Regions from separate parts of the Homo sapiens genome. Here region 1 is linked to region 2. Evidence: promoter capture Hi-C in 16 types of primary human blood cells and fetal thymus (Javierre and others, 2016). All regions are on one chromosome and are shown on one strand. The core of a region is centred on a gene start or on the middle of the fragment in contact, and the rest is flanking DNA. Distances in the headings are between cores, read along the strand shown.

Region 1 (5,373 bases), core at 1,581-4,080, 1.2 Mb before region 2:
TCTGGGGTGGAATAAAGAGAGGTGGAGGGTGGGGTGCCTGGGCCCAGCCTCCCTGGCTCCTGGTCCTTCTTTCTTCAGCAGGGAGTTCTGGCAAGGCCTGGGCCTGGGGAGGGGGCCTGGGTGCAGTTTTCTCCTGCGGTGTGGTTGGCTCTTTTGTCTTCCAGGATGGGCCTGTGGGGTCTGTGTGGGGAAGGAAGGAGCTGGGAGCCTGGGCTGCCTGTGTGTCGGCTGGATGCTGCCAGGTAAGCCTGAGAGGGATGTGGGGAGGGAGGGAGGGAGGTCACATGGAGCTTGGTTTCATGGGGGTAGGTTGTCCTCCCACCTGTGCCCCCTCCTCAGGCCCAGAACGCTCCTGCTCATGAGAAGATGGCCAGGGAGCCAGGTGGCTGGAATGCTTGCTCTGTGTGGTCTTGGTGGGGGTGGGTGGGATGGAATCAAGACCATTGTGGGTGAGCTCGAGCAGAGAATTTAGCAAGTCCCTTCATTCAGCACCGGCATGGACCAAGCAACTTCTCTGAGCCAGATGCTGGGGACGCAGAGGTGAACCCAGAGACATGATCCCATCTGCTCAGATCTTCATGTCAGAACACGCTTTATTACAGTCTCGGCAAGGGGGTGAGCTCCTCGTCCTGGGAGCAGTGTGTGTGTGTGTGTGTGTGCGTGTGCACATGTGTGTGCATGCCTGTGTGTGTGTGCATGCGTGCATGTGTGTGCGCGTGTATGTGTGTGTATGCGCGCGTGTGTGTGTATGTTGGGGGTGGTGGTGTGCAGAGATCCTCCCAGTGGGAATGTTGTAAAATGAATTGAAGCCATCAAAGGCCTCTGAAAGTCCTTCCCATCCCCTCAAACCCTTGCCCTGTCTCTGCCCATGATGCTCCTGGAGCTTGCTATGGGCTCCCTTTACTGCTTTTCCTCTGGTCCCCTGAGCTAACCCTGCCTGGTGGGTATTCTCAGCTTTCATTGCTTCCTCTTTTTAGACAACTTTTTTTTCCTTTTTCTCAGAGACAGGGTCTCACTCTGTTGCCCAGGCTAGAGTACAGTGTTATGATCACGGCTCACTGCAGCCTTGAACTCCAGGGCTCAATACATCCTCCCACCTCAGCCTCCTGGGTAGCTGGGACTACAGGTGCATGCTACCATGCCTGGCTTATTTTTTGTAGAGACAGAGTCTCATTATGTTGCCCAGGCTGGTCTCGAACTCCTGGGCTCAAGTGATCCTCCTTCCTCAGCCTCCCAAAGTGCTGGGATTACAGGTGGGAGTCACTGTGCCTGGCCTAAGTTTCTTCTAAAAATGTTTCATGTCCAAAACCCTCACTTCCACCCTGTGTGTGTGCTGGGGGCATGAGAGACTGGGGGGATCTCTGAACATGAGTCCCCTCAGATGCAGAATTAGGCTGGGGGGATGTGGGAAGTTGGGGATGGAGGCTGTGGCCTCATCCTCACTCGCTGTCTTCTCCCCCAGGTGGCTCCATCTGGGCCGCATCTCCAGGACTCCTGGCCTGGACTTCTCTTTGGACCTCGGGTGACCTTGGATTCTGGCCACAGTGACTTAGCGGTCAGACTCCGGTGGTTTTCTAGCCCGCTGGGTGACTCCCTGAAGATCTCATCCTCTTCACACCTGTTGGGATGGAGCCTCCCATGGATAGGAACTCTTCCTGGTTGATGCTCAGCAGATGACTGATCTGGCTCTGGAGGACAGCTCCAGGGGTATGAGGGAGGCCTGGCAGCCCACTACTCCCTCCTCACCTGCTCGGGCCCTGCCTGCTGGGCCCTATTGTCTGGGTCTGGGGGCCCTTTCCTGCCCCATGTGAACTTGATTCCTCCTCGCGTTTCTGCCGGTGACCAGACAGAGCCTGGCCTGGGCCAAGTCCCCACTGACCACACTTTCCCCAAGGCTGGGTCTCAAAGGACCCTACAGGATGGGGACAGGAACAAGGATGGGAGTCGGGGAGGGGCTGTCAGGCAGAGGGCAGATGCAGCTCCTCGGGTGCCGCTGGCTGGAGTCCTTTGTCTCCATTTGCTCAGTGCGTAATTGTCATTTTGTGGGGGACTTCCTTGGTGGGGCTTTTCCATGCTTTTCCTCTCCCTGATGGTTACAAAGAGGAGACAGTCAGGATCTGGGAGGAGCTGGAGCCTTCCCCCTGTGCTGTTGAACTCTGGGAGGGGCAGCCAGAGGGGCTGAGAGTGCACCATCCTGAAAAGAGAGGGTCTTTAAGAGATAAGATTTAGGCTAGGGAAATTCACTAGAAAGAGACAGGTGGCCCTGGGTTTTTTTTCCTGCCATCCAAAGGGAACCAGTCTTACCCAAAGGCTTAAGGGGTCACCTTAGCCCAGTCTCAGGACACTCTTCTCCAATCAGATCGCTGCTTCTAGTTGCACTGCTCCTGGATTCTGTTCTTGGGGAACAGAAGGTGGCAGGACAGGCCCCACAATCTGCAATTCCAGCTCCCTCCAGAGGAGACAGTCCCAGCGTTTGCAAGAGAGCAGCTTGTGGCCTCCCTTAGGCAAGTTTAAAAGCCAGATGTCCTTTTTCCCAGAATGCGGAGTGGTGTGTACTATTCATCAGCTTGGGCTGCCACAGCACCATGCCAGACTGGATGGCTTAAACATCAGGAATTTATTTTCTGCCAGTTCTGGAGGCTGGAAAGTCCAGATCAAGGTGTTAAGACTTGGTTTCTGGTGAGGCCTCTCTCCTTGGCTTGCAGGTGGCACCTTCTCACTATGTCCTCACATGGCCTTTTCTCTGTGGAGAGGGACAGAGAGCATGAGCAGGCTCTGGTGTCTCCTCCTCTTCTTATAAAGACACTAATATCACCATATTAGGGCTTAAACCTATGACCTCATTTAACCTTAACCCCTTAAAGGTCCCATCTCCAAAAACAGTCACATAGCAGGCTACTGCTTCAACATATGCATTTGGGGGAGGGGACACCATTCAGTTCTTAACAGGGTGGTCACCGCAAACATGGAAAGTCAGAGCCTTCTCCCCTTCAGAATTCCCGCCCCCACCCAGGGATGGGGAGGAGGAGCAGAGAGGTATGGGAAGCAGACACGGAGAGTGGCAGGTACCATGCTGGGGTGGCTCAGGAGTGCTTCGGAGGACATATGGAACTGGCAGGGCTCAGTGCAGGGAGGCGGAGGCCCTGGGAGAGCCGTGTCCTGAGAAGGGCCTGGGCTACAACCCTGGGCAAGTTACTTCACCTCTGAGCCTCCGATGCTCTGTGAAATGGAAGGAATGTGCTTGCCTGTCAGGTGCAGGGAGAATTCAGTGAGATTGTGTGCCTAGCACAGTGCCTGACTCCCAGTAGGTGCTCAGCAAATGCTCCCATCCATCTGGGAGTATAGACTTAGGGTTTATCTATTTTTTTTTTTTTTTGGCTCTCTGGACTTTAAAACTCAGCATCTTCTGAACCAGAGGCATTTCTGATTAGCCCTTCCCTACCTATTTTCCTAGTATCACTCTTTAATCAGCTTGGGGAGGTGGCAGCATTTCATGGCCTCCGTAGTAACTCACAATGCTTCCTGGGGTATTTAAATTCTACTCTCTCATCAGCACTGAGCACCTACTTTGGGCCCTTTCCCGTGCTAGCCATTTGGGGGAAATATAGGTGAAGAGTGGCTGGGGTTTGAACCTTTAGGATTTCACAGCCATGCTGGATGGGATAAAACCAGCTCACATGGAGAATCAGAGAATGGGACAGTGCCACAAAACAGTCTACTGAGGCACAAGTTCTGAGTGCCTGGGAAGTGGTAGAGAGACCCCAGAGAGGGCTGCTGCAGTCTGGAACAGCTTCCTAGCAAGCTGTACCAAACAGGGCCTTGAAGGATGAGAAAGATCTGGCTGAGATGATACCCGACCCTCTAGGGAAATTCTTAAAGTAACTTCTAGGAAATGTCATTGCTCCTTAAAAAAAAAAAAAAAAAAAAAAAAGCAGGTTCTAATTCAAATTCCGCTGCACTACTGAAGTAGTGCAGGACTTATCAGAACCTTTAAAATGCTAATGGCAATTTCAAATACTCAGGGACAGGGCATAGGATGAAGTGTTCCTTGACTTTTATGGCCGTAGAATCTTTTTCTCATGGAACATCGTTTAGAACTGTGGGAGATGCTAGGCTGGGGTTTCTATGGGAAAAGTACAGCAGTGATAGAAGATGGCATAATTAGGGTACACTTAGGTGCTTTGTAGCATTGGCTGAAAAGGAAGCAGACCGGGTGGGCGTGGGGGAGTCTCAACTTGGTTCCAGGAGCCAGGCCAGCTTGATGCGTTTTTTTTTTTTCTAATGGTGGGAGGGCAGGCCAATAGTTGGAGAAACTAGAGGCCTGACAGTCGGTGATGGAAGAGATGTCTACTAAGCACGGTTGTCAGATCTTTTGCGGAGAGATGCGGGTGTGCGTGTGTCTGTCAGAGTGTAACAGGATCCAGCCCTCTGGGAAGGGGCTGACCAGAACCAGGCAGGGGGTTTCTGTCTAGGACAAGTAGGGTCCATTTTCAGGGGAGCTGAAATATTTGCAGGGGGTGCTCTGAGACCCACAGCCAATAAATAGGGAAGCAACATGCTTTTGGGCAGGGTCCATGTGGTTAGGGTTGATTTTGATGGGGCTGGGGGGCTTAGAGTTAGACCCCCTGCCCTGGTCAGGCCCCACTCCCTGGCTGGTGGGGGCGGGAGGCCTCTGAAGCTGCAGCTGGAGGGGCCGGGGCAGTGTTGCATGGTGTGATTAACCTACTAACCCAGGGCTCAGCCGGGACGCTGTGGCGTGTGACGAGGTGCCTGGCCTTCTGCCAACCAACTAACCCACTAACCAGGCCCGAGCATGCCCTACTAACCACCCCCCCGCAGCCAGATCCTACTAACTGTGCAGCTCATGGGCCTTTCAAGGGGCTGGGATATGGGGGCAGCCAAGGCTCCAGAAGGCTCTGCCTATGGGCTGGGATCTTTGTGCAGACCCACGTTCCAGGACAGAGAATGCAAATAAGACTCACCAACTCTGCCACTTCCTGTTGAGTGAGTTTGAGTAAGTCACCTCACTTCTCTCAACCTCAGTTTCCTCAGTGGTAGAATGCGAGTTCTGATACCTTACAGGTTGCAGTGAGGATTCCCGTCAATATAAGGGTCTCAGCACATGGCAGACACCTAAAAAAAAAAAAAGTATGAGGATGGAGGAAGGCCCCTCAAACCTGGTTGAACACGTCTGCTGCCTAGGCCCTGGCCTCTCTGGGTGTTCTGCACACAGATCCTTCTGCCTGGGGCAAGACACTTGGCTTTGAATCCATGTCACTTCCCCACATTCTTCCTCCGTCTCAGCTTTCTTTTCTGTAGGCAGCTCTTTTGTTCGATTACTAACCCGTCTAACCCCTGGGGTGCCTCAACTGC
Region 2 (5,032 bases), core at 2,533-5,032:
CTACACTTTCCATCTACTCCTTTCTCCCTACTCTCCTCAAACATCTATGTCTGAATGTTCACATTACCTCAATCTCCAACATGCACAAGTCTGTTACTCCCTCCCCTTTGACTACTGAGTTACTCGCCACTCTTTGTCTTTCTGGTAACGGTGATTCAAAAACAATGAACACTCTCAAATCCACAATGGTCACTAATTTCTACTCTCCATCAAGAATAAACTTTTTGTAAGTCCTTCTATACCTAAAAATTCCGAATCATTTCTCTTCTCAGTATACACTAACTTGCTCACTGTCCCAGAGCATAAAATGAGGGAGAGGAAGACTAGAAAGCTATAGGTTGGGAGCAGATTATCAGGACCTGGAATACTATGGTAAGAAATCCATTAAATTCATCAGGCAATAAGGAATCCCAAAAGGTTGGTCCAAGAGGTAAGTGACAACTACTGCTGACCTGAAGAAGTCATCTGCAGGTGGTTGAAAACACTGACAAGCAGGAGAAGTGGGGAAAGCTATCTTTTGGGAGGCTAGGCAAGAACTGTCACAAAGGCCTGAACCAAGATGATGGACTGCAGAGGGAATGGAAGGAAGGGATAGAGAAAGAAGAGTTAGTCTTCCCTTAAGTTTCACAAAACCAAAGAATCACTGCTGAGTAATTTTACACTCACTAACAGGAAGATCCCTATTTTTATTTAAGAACACTTTCAAGGAAATTCTTTCAAAAAATTAAAGTGACTGATTAAGACATTCAGAACAATGAGTCAAGTAACTTCTTCAAGATTTGCTTAACAAGTAAAAGGGAAAAGGAACATACAGGCTTTGATTTTCTGTTGTTATTCTAAAAGCAGTATTCAACTTTCAGTGCCAGTTGAAAATGTTCAAATGTCTGAAAATCCTCATAAAAATAATTTCCAAATGGAATCAGTAACTAGTTCTTTAAAACCAGGACTTTACATTAATGGTAACTTCATCTACTGCTTAAATAATAACTTGAAGGGAAACAGCCCACCTCGAAAGTCATTTCTAACATTTTAATTCTTATAAAAAAATAAATAGAGGGCCAGGTGCGGTGACTCACACCTGTAATCCCAGCACTTAGTGGGCGGATCACCTGAGGTCATGAGTTCCAGACCAGCCTGGCCAGCAGGGTGAAACCCTGTCTCTACTAAAAATACAAAAAATTTAGCCGGTCATGGTGGCGTGCGCCTGTAGTCCCAGCTACTTGGGAGGCTGAGGCAGGAAAATCGCTTGAACCTGGGAGGCGGAGGTTGCAGTGAGCAGAGATCATGCCACTGCACTCCAGCCTGGGCAACAGAGACTCCGCCTCAAAAAAAAAACATAAAAATAAAAAAGAATTTTATAAGACAACAAACATTTGCCAAAGTATTTTAGTTACCAATATCTTCACATAGGAATAAGCTATTCATTGCTCCTAACCAACAAGAATTTTAGAAAGTTGACTTGAGAGTAAGAAGTATCAATTTTTCATTGAACAACACTGAATTCTTTAGAGCATGTTAGGCCTAGATGCTGTGCTAGATACCGACATTACTTAAGAAACAGCTTCTACCTTCAAAAAGTCTAGGAGGAAAAAAAATCTAGGGGAGATACACATGAAGAGTTAACATCAAGAAACTTAATTTATAACTCTTTGGGAAAAATAATTAGACTTTGGGCACGTGTCAACATTCATTATCTGGGTACATTTAAATCTTCATAATGAAAGCAAATGTTTGCAAAAAGCACAGTGCGCAAATTCCCAATAGGAACTGCTTTCCAAGAGTTAGCTTCATACTACTCACATACTGTCAAAGGGATCTACTGAATACTGTGTGTCTGTAACACTTTTGGAGGGAGGAAATACTCCAATGAAAGAAAAATGACTGGATCTATTTAAAATCAGTTCTGCAACTCACTTGCTGTGTAACTTGGTCCAAGTCAATTTCCTTCTTATTTTCTCCATTTGTTTTAGTGTCTGCCACCCATCTACCCACATCATCTAGAAGTCAGAGTAATGAACACTTGTTTGATACACTGTATAAACGACTTGGAAGAAAAGTTTTATATAAACCCAATATTCAGTACTATAAATAAGCTTTAATTGAGAATTTTCACTCTACCAAAAAAAGGCAAAATGTCTCTTCTCAAAATCCCTGTCACTGACCAAAGTTATCATTTTTCATCAATTCATTAACAAATATTTACTGAGCACCTATTACATGCGAGGGACTATTCTAAAAACTGGGGATATGAGAGTGAGCAAAACAAACTCATGGCCCTTACATGTAAAAAGAGAACACAACTAGTAGGAGAAAAATAATAATAATAAATTGTATTGGCATGTTGGATGGTGATAAGTACTATGGAGACCGATAAAGCAGGGAAGACAAATACCACCCCAAATAGTGGGAACTACAATTAGGTCTTCAGAAAGGGATTCCCTGAGAAGGTGACGTCTGAGCAAAGACCTGGAAGAAGGTGAGTTAGTGTGCCAAGGGAAGAACACTTCAAGCAAAGGGAACAAAAGCAGGTGGAAAGGTCTTGAACTGAACTTATTCTAGAGTAGCAGAGGAACAGCAAGGAAGCTTGCGAAGATGGAATGGGCAAGGAAAAGGTAGTAAATGAGATCAGGGCAGGAAAAAAAAGTGTAAAGCCTTGTAGCTGTTGCAGAGGCTTTGACTTTTATTCTGGGTGAGACAGGGAGTCTTTGGGAGGTATTAAGTCTCAGAGAAGTGCATCAGTGACTTTTTAAAGGAGGTTTAAGAACACTAAAAATAAGGTGTCTGAAAAAAGCTAAATTAAGCCAAAAATATTTCTAAGAATTTAAAATGAAGAATTTGAAAACCAACGAATGGGCCATACTCGACCTCCCTAGCTGCCCAAAGGATGCTGACGACACGAACCAGCTGTGACAGACGAACATTCAGAGGCAAGCAGATTTCCGTAATGTTTACAGTCCTTGCCAGTAGGAAAAGCCGTGACTTTTCAACAAAATCACTTGGCCAGTCGGATGCACCTCGAAATCCCTCCATTTGACAGAGCACGTGTTAACTTCTAAGAAAGTAGGTGGGGCCCGGGATGTCACCTCATCTTAAAACATGCGGAAACCAAAAAGAGAAAAGGCTCTCCCGTCAAGTCAGCGGAGCTGCCCAGGAGAGCGGAGGCTTTCCGGAATCCCGGCTCCACCACGAACTTCAAGGCGCCAGCGTCCCACCGCGAGTCCTGACACGAGGGCTGCCTTCAACCGGCAAGCCCATCTCCCGCTGGTTACCAGGGGACTCCACCCCGGACGACAAATCACAGTCAGAACCAACGTGTCTCTCCCACCCTCGGACTGCGGCTCCTTCCCACCGGCGGGCCTGGGGGTGGGCCCAGACCCAGCCTGGGGGTGGGGGGTTGGGGAGAAGGCGGGTCCCAGCGGAAACTCCCGGCCGCGCCTTCCCGAGCCATGCGCTCGGGCCGGGACCCAGCCGCCTTCGCCCCGGGGAAGGGAGAGGGCGTGTTACCACGGCAATGCCTGGAGGGCCGAGGGGCGCACTCGCTGAGGGGCTTCGAAGGGGCCGGGGGAGGGAGGGGGCGCCCGCAGGGAGGGGCTGACACAGGGCTGACTCCGATTTAGGAATATCCTACCACTTCTCCATCAACAAATCTCCCATCACTGCCGTCCCACGGCCTCGCTCGCGCCCACAGACCCACTCACAATTCCTTGATCAGCACCATCTTCCCGGAACCCCCTCACAGCTGCCGCCGATACCACCGCCGCCGCCGCCGCTACCGCCTCTCACAGCGCCTGCGCGGCCCCGCCTCCCTGCCCCCCCGAGCCACCATCGCGCCTGCGTGCTTACACCCTTCCGCCGCGACCAGTCGCGTCAGCGCGCGAGGGGGCCTAGCTCCGCCCAGTTTCGTGCCCCACCCCGGGCACACGAGGCCTCCACTGCGGTTGCGCAGCCTGCCGAAGAGCGTGCGGCTTCTACTGCGGCTGCGCAAGCTCGACGCGCGCACTCTTGTCTGCTTACGAGGGCTCCTCCCTTCAGCTTTGGTCCCTCGGGGCGTCTGGGCAGCCTACGCTTTCCGGTGAGTTTTCCAGTTGGTTCTTTGGAAGCCGTTTTGCGGTGACTGGTTTTCTGCTCTCTCTCACTGCTCCGAGTCAGGGCCCACCTCCTTGACCGACACCTCACCTCCATAGTCCACATAAAAGACTCCTGACAGGTTCTGGAGGCAGCCGACGCCAGCTTCTGTTCCCCTCCCCAGCCCTTGGCAGCTCAGGTTCCGCGGGAGGACGTTCACCTGCTTCGCGGTCTCGTGGAGGTCCACCGCGGCGGAGAATCCTAAACCTCACCTGTGACTCGGCAGGATGAGCGGCCAGCACTCCCGACGGAGGCCCTCTGGGAGAAAAGAGGCCCTTGGCCTCGAGACCCAGGAAAGCGGGCTGTTCAGGAGTTGGTTCGCGCAGTTACACCGAAAGCGCCGTGGGCCTCAAAGCCGCAGCCCGGAGGTCGCTGGCTTGCTCTGTGTCAGACACGGTTCTAGGCAGTGGGGATGCATCTAGAAGCAGACACAGTCCCTGTTCTCAAGAAGCTCACAGTCTAGAGGAGACAACTCACTTGGAAAGAAAGCAGGGAGAATTTGGGGTGGTGGGGAAGTGCTATGCTATGAATACAGTGGAGTACTGGGAGAAGCAGAGGACTCAAGACAAGGGCTGTCTTAGGAGGCGGTGTTTGAGCCTAGCCTGTTAGGATGTGAGAGGGGCATTCCAGTTGGAGGGAAATATGACCCGAGGATGGAGTAAGCCTAGGGTGTTCAAGGATCAGCTAGAGGGCAGATGTGGCCAGAACATCCTAAGTGAGGGTGGGAAATGAGCTGGGACCAACTGGATTACTAGGCCATAGTAAAGAATTTGTCTTCTAAGAACCATGAGAACCTGTTGAAAGGCTATTAAGACGATTAAAATATCACGAAAACATTTTTGTATAAACATCTGGTGTATCTGATAGTGGAATACATCTGTGGAGTTAGGGCTGCCTCCAAAAAAAT

The links. The method cuts DNA at HindIII sites, captures the fragments that hold promoters and counts their contacts. A CHiCAGO score of 5 or more calls a contact.
Region 1: a fragment that was not itself captured here is called in contact with the fragment with the promoter of PITPNB in region 2 in 5 of 17 cell types (total CD4 T cells, naive CD4 T cells, total CD8 T cells and 2 more); the score reaches 11.2 in total CD4 T cells.

The regions. Positions count from the first base shown.
Region 1 is chr22:26,666,696-26,672,068 of GRCh38, forward strand. It overlaps MIAT (myocardial infarction associated transcript), which reads left to right. Exons shown (of 5, transcript NR_033320.3): 3 at 1-242; 4 at 490-615; 5 at 1,463-5,373. Among named protein-coding and RNA genes, the nearest start is that of MIATNB, 3.5 kb to the right of the region's middle. RefSeq lists enhancers at 1,298-1,881, 1,882-2,464. The HindIII fragment of the contact is 9,187 bases long and covers 1-5,373 here.
Region 2 is chr22:27,915,474-27,920,505 of GRCh38, forward strand. It overlaps PITPNB (phosphatidylinositol transfer protein beta), which reads right to left and starts at 3,783. Exons shown (of 12, transcript NM_012399.5): 1 at 3,699-3,783. The coding sequence starts at 3,718. It overlaps TTC28-AS1 (TTC28 antisense RNA 1), which reads left to right and starts at 3,903. Exons shown (of 5, transcript NR_026963.1): 1 at 3,903-4,072. RefSeq lists enhancers at 2,983-3,968, 3,969-4,953, 4,124-4,303 and silencers at 3,234-3,553, 3,744-3,813. The HindIII fragment of the contact is 2,643 bases long and covers 2,582-5,032 here.